Linked DNA regions of Homo sapiens: region 2 is linked to region 1. Evidence: promoter capture Hi-C in human tissues and cell types (Jung and others, 2019). All regions are on one chromosome and are shown on one strand. Each heading gives the region's core, a stretch centred on a gene start or on the middle of the fragment in contact. The rest is flanking DNA. Distances are from core to core; before and after follow the strand shown. Region 1 holds the start of SOAT1 (sterol O-acyltransferase 1). Region 2 has its middle 25 kb from the start of FAM20B.

Region 1 (4,332 bases), core at 383-2,882:
ATTACAATTAATGATCAACTTCTGCTAAGGAGAATAAAGAGTTCATGGAGGGCTTAATGGGGATGGGGTGATTTCCAGAGGAAGTGATATGTGGGCTGATATCTGAGGCAGGTATAAGAGTTGGAGGGAGGGAGAGAATACAGCATTAGAGGTGGAGGAAACTCCTAAAAGCCAAGAGAGGAAAGAAAATGAAGCTTTCCAGTAACAAAAATAAAGCCAGTGTGGCATGAACCTGGAAAGCCAGAAGGAAAGTGGGCCAAATGAACCAGAGATAGAGTGTGCTCACTCAGTAGGTCTTTATCCTAAAAGACTGCGAAACCTCAGATGCATTCTAAGCATGTGATTCACTAAAACACGTGCATTTCTAAACGATAATTCAGTGCCACAGAGCTCCTTCCAAAACCCATTCTCACACCCAGACAACGCACAGACTTCCTTAACAAGTCATTCACTGACACCGCCCAACTTTTAAAAAGAAAAAAAAAAAGCTTCAAATTGAATTCTACTTCAAGGAAGAGGAAATCAAGCAGGCTGAAAAAAAGAAAAAAGTGGTTTAAACAGGTGGCAGCCACTTAAATATTAAAAAGTGACCAACAGGCCAGGCGCGGTGGCTCACGCCTGTAATCCCAGCACTTTGGGAGGCCGAAGCGGGCGGATCACTTGAGGTCAGGAGTTTGAGACCAACCTGGTCCAACATGGTGAAACCCCGTCTCTACTAAAACTACAAAAATTACCTGGGCGTGGTGGCGCACGCCTGTAATCCCAGCTACTCAGGAGGCTGAGGCACAAGAATCGCTTGAACCCGGGAGGCAGAGGTTGCAGTGAGCCGAGATTGCGCCACTGCACTCCAGCCTTGCGACACAGCGAGACTCCGTCTCAAACAAACAAAAGTGACCAACGAACTTAACCTAAATATATATACGGAGAATAAAGTTTATATAGTTGTTTCTCACTTAGAAATAACCTTTCAATATACATATTATTTAAATTACATGACCATTAACACTTAGGGAAAACAGAAACTTACCTACATCCTAATATTTTACAATAAAACATGAGCTTGATTAAAGGTTCTGGTGCCCCTACAGATTTTCATGTCTTGCTAATACCATCCTTCCCTTCACACATTTTCTCTAAATCATTAAAAAGCTGACTTCCTGAGTGCATTTTTGGTTTCGCTTTTTAAAGAATAAAACGTCTTCTAATTCCTAACTTTCTTTACTACTGACTTGAGAGATGCCACGAGATTTGCGGAACACCAAACCAGCGTGCAGGGTTTAAAAGGCTGCCCGTGACCCGGGCGCCTGACGGTAACTTTCCCGCCCTCCCCTCCCCAACTCCCCTGCAGTCGCCGAGCCTCGCCTTCTCCGCAGCACAGCCCAGGACAAGGCCGGGCCGGAGCTGCTGCCGCCACCGCTTCTCCCTTCCCCGCGGGCTGAGGCCGGTGGACCCAAGCGGGAAGCGAGGAGAGGCGCGGGAGCACCACCGTTACCTGAGGCCCGCGCCCGGCAGCGGGCACTTCGGCCAAGAGGGCAGAGCCGGGAAGCGGTCACAGAGCAGCCAGCAGGAAGGTCGACTCCGGGAAGCTCTCCTGGCGCCCAGGGCCCGCAACGTCGCCTGCTAAGCTAAAGCGCCGGACAGCCCGGCCCCTACGCCCCCTGCCTCCGAGCACCGCTGCGTCACGCGCAGGGCCACCTCCGGCTGAGCATCCTATTGGTGGTCCCCAGGTTGCCAGGCTCCGCCCACCTCCCCGCCCCTTCCCGGGCGCGCGGGTCCCCGGCGCCAGTGCTCGCAGGCTGGCCCTGGCAACCTGCCAAGGAAGCTTCTCACCCGGACATCATGATACCGGCGACAACATCTTGCTTGACACTTCCACCCCAGCAGTAGAATGTGCAGCCAAAACGGGACTGCGACAACTCCCTGCAAGCCCGAAACGGCACCCTGCGTGGTAGCATGGAGCTGCAGGGGCGTTTGGCTCCTAGGCCGACTGGAAGAAGCCGCTTCTGGAGCTGTGGATCATTGCAGTTTGAACTGACCATCCAGGAACAACGTAGAACTAGCCAGAAGCAAGAATCGCTGGCTTATCTGCACACCAAGATTCGTGCCTTTATCAGGAGATTCCTTACCGTTTGAAAACCAGCGTCCTTCAGCAACATTCAAACTAGATAAGGGGAAAAAACCTGCACCAAATAATAAAACACACCAAATAATGGAACAACTAAGTAATATTTAAGGGCCCTTGAGGCCAGGTGCGGTGGCTCACGCCTGTAATCCCAACACTTTGGGAGACCGAGGTGGCTGGGTCACCTGAGGTTAGGATCGAGACCAGCCTGACCAACATGGTGAAACCCCGTCTCTACTAAATACAAAAAATTAGCCGGGCTTGGTGGCGCGCGCCTGTAATCCCAGCTATTCGGGAGGCTGAGGCAGGAGGATTGCTTGAACCCGGAAGCCAGAGGTTGCAGTGAGCCTAGATTGTGCCATTGCACTCCAGCCTGGGCAATAAGAGCTAAACTCCTTCTCAAAAAAAGTTTTAAAAATAAAATAAACAAAGGGCCCTCGTGACTTCATAATCAAAAGAAGAATGATGCAGAGAGATTTGGGACAGAGATTAAATACAACAGTTAATCGCTTGGAATTTGTGAAGGCAGAGGTGTACGTAAATTTAGGGTAAAGGTAGGTGAAAAGGCAATGATGAGAGGAGCAGAGACTGAAGAGTCGCACTCACAGCCTGCAAACTAATACCAGCTAGCCTGGCCTGACTAATCGCTTCTTCCCCACTCCTCCCCAGGACAAAAATCCCTGAACAAACAGATGAGGTTTAGCAGAACTGACTACTCTCTGGGTCCTTTAAACAAAGTGGATTTGTACACGTTCCCTTGGCCACCCAGCAGGCTGCACTGTTCACTCAAAGCAGAAATGGCCCTCAGCATCCAGTCGAGTTTAGTACTGGCTGTCATTGGCAGATCTGCTCCGTTTGGCCTCTTCTACAACTGTGATTGCCACGTGTGCTGACTAGTTGGTGACAGGGTCTGGTAGACCCCCAGCTGCTTCCCCTCCCCACTCCCACTAGTTATAGAGCAGTAGGAACATAGGCACTCATTTCTATTGGGTCTCTGTTGGCTACCTTCTATATACACCAAGATGACTGGCCTTTTCACTGTTTGATTCATTCATTCAAAAAATATTGATAGTATTCTTGGTGCTAGAAATACAGTGGTGAATAAACAGAAGAAGCCCCTGCACTTAGAGGCTTATGTTCTGCAGGACTAGGTATGAAAGGAAACAAACAGGTGGCTCAAGCCTATAATCCCAGCACTTTGGGAGGCTGAGGCAGGAGGATCACTTTGAGGCCAGGAGTCCAAGACCAGCCTGAGCAACATAGTGAGACTCCCTCTCTACAGAATTTAAAAACAACAACAACAACAACAACAATGACAACAAAATTTGCTGGGAATTGTGGCAGGCCCCTATGGTCCCAGCTACTCGGGAGGCTGAGATAAGAGGATTGCTTGTGGTGGGGGATGGGGGGTGAGGGACGGAGGATGCAGTGAGCCAAAAAATCATGCCACTGCACTGCAGCCTGGTCAACACAGTGGGACTCTGTCTCAAACAACAAAAGCTTATGTTTCTAATGAAGAATATAAATAATAAAACGAATAGATGAGATAATCACTGGCAGTGATAAGTACTGAGCAGAAAACAAAACAGAATGGTCAGGGAAGGATTTTCTGAGGAGATAATTCAGGAGCTAAGACCTAAATGACAAGAAGGAGCCAGCCAAGCCAACCATGGGGAGGAAGAACATTCTAGACAGAGGATAATGGGTGTCAAGGCCCCGATGCTGAACTGTGGCTGATGCTGAAGCGTGGCTGTTTGAGGAACAGGCCAGGAGGCTTGAGCATGTCAAATAGGGGTTTGAAGTTGAGTTTGGAGCATTAAGCAGGAACCTAATCACGTTGTTTGGATTTATCTGTTAAGTGCAAAGGCAAGATAATGAAGGGTTTGGGTTTTTGTTGTTTTGAGATGGGGTCTCACTCTGTCGCCCAGGCTGGAGTGCAGTGGTGCAATCAGGGCTCACTGCATCCTCTACCTCCCCAGGCTCGCTAAGTCATCTTCCCACCTCAGCCTCCCTAGTACCTGGGACTACAGGTGGGCGTCACCACACCAGACTAATTTTTGTATTTTTTGTAGAGACAGGGTTTCGCTGTGTTGCCCAGGCTGGTCCTGAACTCCTGGGCTCAAGTGATCCTCCCGCCTCAGCCTCCCAAACTGCTGGGATTACAGGCATGAGCCACGTGCCCGGCCATTGGTTTATTTTTTTTTTTAAAT
Region 2 (4,331 bases), core at 1,724-4,223, 290 kb after region 1:
TTCAGATGGAATCAGAAATGCTACAACTGGCTGGCTCTATACCGACTCCTAGCCCAGATGGCAGAACTCAGGCCCCTTTCCTTCTACACAGCTGTGTGGTCAGAGAAAGAGCCCAGAACTGGGGCTTAGGAATCCAGCTTCTAGAAAATTCAGCTCAGTGCTCCACCTAACCTGAAATCTCCGCAGAAAAGCAGCTCCACTCTCCAGCCCTCCATGCACATTCCATACCTGCCTGCCTGCCTGCCCCTGCTTAGGCTGTCTCCTGCACCTGAAGTGCACGTGTGCATGCGCGTGTTTACTCCACATTATGTTTGGGACACTGTGCTCAGTGCTTTGGGTGAGTGAGAAACACTCTCTTCTTACCCCATCAAAATCCATCCTACCCTTTGAGCTCATTTCCTACACGCCTTACCCATCTGAACTCAAATGGCCTGTGAAGTCATACCCCAGAGTTGAGAGCACCTGGTGGGGACATTTCGCCAGGGGAGAACGAGTCAGCAGGCCCTGATAGGGCCAGGTCCTCTCCCCAGGGTCTTGTGAAGTGAGCAGGGACAGAGCAAGGTCGGTCAGGGAGGGCCTGCAGGGGTCGTTTGGCCAAAGGACCGTGCCGGGGCCTTTCCTCTCTCCCCGTGCTGCACCTCCAAACATGACCACACGGGGTCAGTGTCCTTTCATGCTTGAGTTGGTGACCCCAGGGCTCTCTCTGCAGGGTCTTTCTGCCGAGTTGTAGCTAATTGTACAAAAACTTCCCCGAGGCTGGGAGCAAAGTAATCTTTTACGCCAGAATGACCCAAGGTCAGGGTGAAGAAGAAGAGCAGCAGATTGTTTTCACAGTCATGTTGTTTCACTGAGAGGGGCCCCTGGAGCCCTGCATGGATGCCCTACACAGGCCGGCTCAGAGCTCTCTGGCTCATTAGTAAGCACTCATTCGGGCAGACGGCTGGGGAGGCGGGAAGGCCAGCCACAACAGGGAAGACGTCTGAATTCCGCACACTTAAATCCCTCTGGAACATTCAGGGGTCCCAATCCACAGCAGACTATTCCTGCTGGTCCTGTTTTTTGTTTTTGTTTTTGTTTTTGTTTTGGAGATGGGGTATTGCTCTGTCACCCAGGCTGGAGTGCAGTGGGATGATCACAGCTCACTGCAGCCTCGGCTTCCCAGGCTCAAGCAGGCCTCAGCCTCCCGAGTAGCTGGGACTGTAGGCATGCGCCACCATGCCTGGGTTTTTAAAAATTATTTTTTGAGATAGGGTCTTGCTCTGTCGCCCAGGCTGAAGTGCAGTGGCACCTTCTTGGCTCACTGCAAACTCCGCCTCCCAGGTTCAAGCGATTCTCTTGCCTCAGCCTCTCGGGTATCTGGGATTACAGGCATGTGCCACCACGTCCTGCTAATTTTTGTATTTTTAGTAGATATGGGGCTTCACCATGGTGGCCAGACTGGTCACAAACTCCTGACCTCAAGTGATCCTCCCACCTCGGCCTCCCAAAGTGCTGGGATCACAGGAGTGAGCCACCGCGCCTGGCCCCATGCCTGGCTTTTAAAAAGTTTTTCTAGAGGCGAGGTTTCCCTATGTTGCCCAGGCTGGTCTTGAACTCCTGGGCTCAAGCAATTCTCCTGCCTTGGCCTCCCAAAATGCTGAGATTATAGGCATAAGCCACTGTGTCTGGCCACCAGTCCTGTTTTTAAAGTCTACAGCAGACTCAGCCTCAAGTACTGCTGCTGGTGGTTGAGACCTCAGCCCAGGCCACAAGGGCCAGGGGCTCACCCTTCACAGGAGGGTGGTGGGTACTGACACAATGGCCAACCACCCTGCCAGGCAGGACTTTGCTGGGGGAAAAGTCCCCAGAGGTCTAATCCAGCAAATGCATGTCTCACTGGCTCACCCACCCTCCTGCTCCCCAGAGAAGCAAAGAGTTCCTCAGCCTTATGTTGTTGATGGCTCTCAGGGCCTGAGATGAGGGCTGGGATGCGGACTTTGGAGAATGGGCTAGGGACCCTAGAGGCTGCTGAGGGCCAAGAATGGCTGTTGGTATAAATCCCTGGGCCCCACACCACAGTCCAGGCACAGATCAAGTTTTGTGAAGTCTGAAGCTTATATAATTTGGAGATCTCTTCAAGAAAAATAACACAAAATAAAAAAATACAAAGTTGAATATAAAAGTAAATATTTAGAATGAGAAAATAGATGACATCAAGTTATAAATTTTTAAAGGCTGACAAATACCACAAACATCACAAAATCCAGAAAATTCACGTTTTTATTAACTGATACACTTCTATAATATTTTTCCATGTGCTTCTGTCTGCCTACTCTTTGATGACCGCTTCAAATGCCAACAATTTTGTAGTGCCATTTTCTATAGAAATAATAGAAAGATAATTTAGTGTTTTTTCCAGCATAGTTGATCAAAAATTTCTGTAATATTGCTATAGGTTTATGGTTAACTCAAGAATTTCATACATTCTATTTTTTCAATCCCAACAAATAAATAAATGTACAGTGCGTTTATAATTGTATTCGCAGCAGTATTAAGAATAGTCACGACAGGTCAGGCATGGTGGCTCACACCTGTAATCCCAGCACTTTGGGAGGCCGAGGCGGGTGGATCACCTGAGGTCAGGAGTTCAAGACCAGCCTGACCAACATGGAAAAACCCCGTCTCTACTAAAAATACAAAAAATTATCCAGGCGTGGTAGTGCATGCCTGTAATCCCAGCTACTCAGGAGGCTGAGGCAGGAGAATCGCTTGAACCCAGGAGGCAGAGGTTGCATTGAGCTGAGATTGCACCGTTGCACTCCAGCCTGGGCAACAACAGCGAAACTCCATCTCAGAAAAAAAAAAAAAGGAAGAAAGAAAGAAAGAAAAAAAGGCCGGGCACGGTGGCTCACGCCTGTAATCCCAGCATTTTGGGAGGCCAAGGAGGGCAGATCACGAGGTCAAGAGATCAAGACCATCCTGGCCAACATGGTGAAACTCCGTCTCTACTAAAAATACAAAAATTAGCTGGGCATGGTGGCGGGCGCTTGTAGTCCTAGCTACTCAGGAGGCTGAGGCAGTATAACTGCTTGAACTCAAGAGGCAGAGGTTGCAGTGAGCCGAGATTGCATCACTGCACTCCAGCCTGGCAGCAGAGGGAGACTCCATCTCAAAAAAGAAAAAAAAAAATAGTCACAGCAAGGGGGAATATCCTGGAAGAAGAAAATGTTGACTAGACATCAGTGAAAAGCGAACCCTGCCTTTTACATTTACCATAGCTGAAAGAATTTTCTACAAACTAGCTTCTGACTCCATATGTTTTCAACATTCTTTCTGTTCCACTTCCCACCTACTTCCGGTGCCAGGTATTGAAAGTCACATTTATATTTGGATAGGACCTTTGGTATTAAGTCAATACAGTAGACAATGGAGATGCCCCTAGAAGCCATTCCTTGACTGAGGGAGGGGCTGCTAGAAACTATACTTGAAAGTGACTGCAAATCACATAAGTGAACATACTCTCAACTCAATTTCTCCTTAGATAGAGATTAAAAATGCCCACAGCCACTCCAAATACCACCCAACAAGAAAGGAAGTGTGACTGAGGGATGTCAGGGAGGGAAAAGACTGTAGTCTTAATTCTTAATTTTTTTTTTTTTTTTTTTGAGACGAGTCTTGCTCTGTCATCCAGGCTTGAGTACAGTGGCTTGATCTCAGCTCATTGCAACCTCTGCCTTCCATGTTCAAGCAATTCTCCTGCCTCAGCCTCCCAAGTAGCTGGGATTACAGGTGCCCACCACCACCCCCAGCTAATTTTTGTAGTTTTAGTAGAGACAGCGTTTCACCATGTTGGCCAGGCTGGTCTCGAACTCCTGACCTCAGGTGATCCGCCCGCCTCGGCCTCCCAAAGTGCTGGGATTACTTACAGGTGTGAGCCACCATGCCCAGCCTGTAGTCTTAATTTTTTATTTTTATTTTTTTAGAGACGGAAGGCTCACTAGGTTGTCCAGGCTGATCTTGAACTCGTGGCCTCAGGTGATCCCCCAGCCTTAGCCTTCTGAGTAGGTGGCACTACAGGCAAGTGCTACCACACATGGCTGTAGTCTTGATTGTTGTTAATATATCTCACTTTTCCAAATTTTGCAAATTTTAAACCAATTTCTAGGGGCCTCACCCAGGAACTTGGAAGGGTCCTTGCAAGCGAGGGGTGCTGAGGCTGAAGCTTCATTAGTTTCATGCTAAATCCGCCCCCGCCTGGGACCCATCACTCTTCCCTCCCTTTTTCCCTTCCCCCTTCCTGCAGAAATTGCCTGCTTTCTTTGATCTCTGCTTCCCAACTCTTGTTGCTTCTG

What was found. The method cuts DNA at HindIII sites, captures the fragments that hold promoters and counts their contacts. A contact is called where the count stands out against the background at its distance.
Region 2: a contact is called between a fragment that was not itself captured here and the fragment with the promoter of SOAT1 in region 1, in 1 of the 25 tissues and cell types used here (liver).

Annotation. Positions count from the first base shown.
Region 1 is chr1:179,291,097-179,295,428 of GRCh38, reverse strand. It overlaps SOAT1 (sterol O-acyltransferase 1), which reads right to left and starts at 1,632. Exons shown (of 16, transcript NM_003101.6): 1 at 1,493-1,632. RefSeq lists an enhancer at 928-1,435 and a silencer at 1,648-1,837. The HindIII fragment of the contact is 6,238 bases long and covers 1-2,722 here.
Region 2 is chr1:178,999,192-179,003,522 of GRCh38, reverse strand. No RefSeq gene overlaps it. Among named protein-coding and RNA genes, the nearest start is that of FAM20B, 25 kb to the left of the region's middle. RefSeq lists a silencer at 488-587. The HindIII fragment of the contact is 5,572 bases long and covers 188-4,331 here.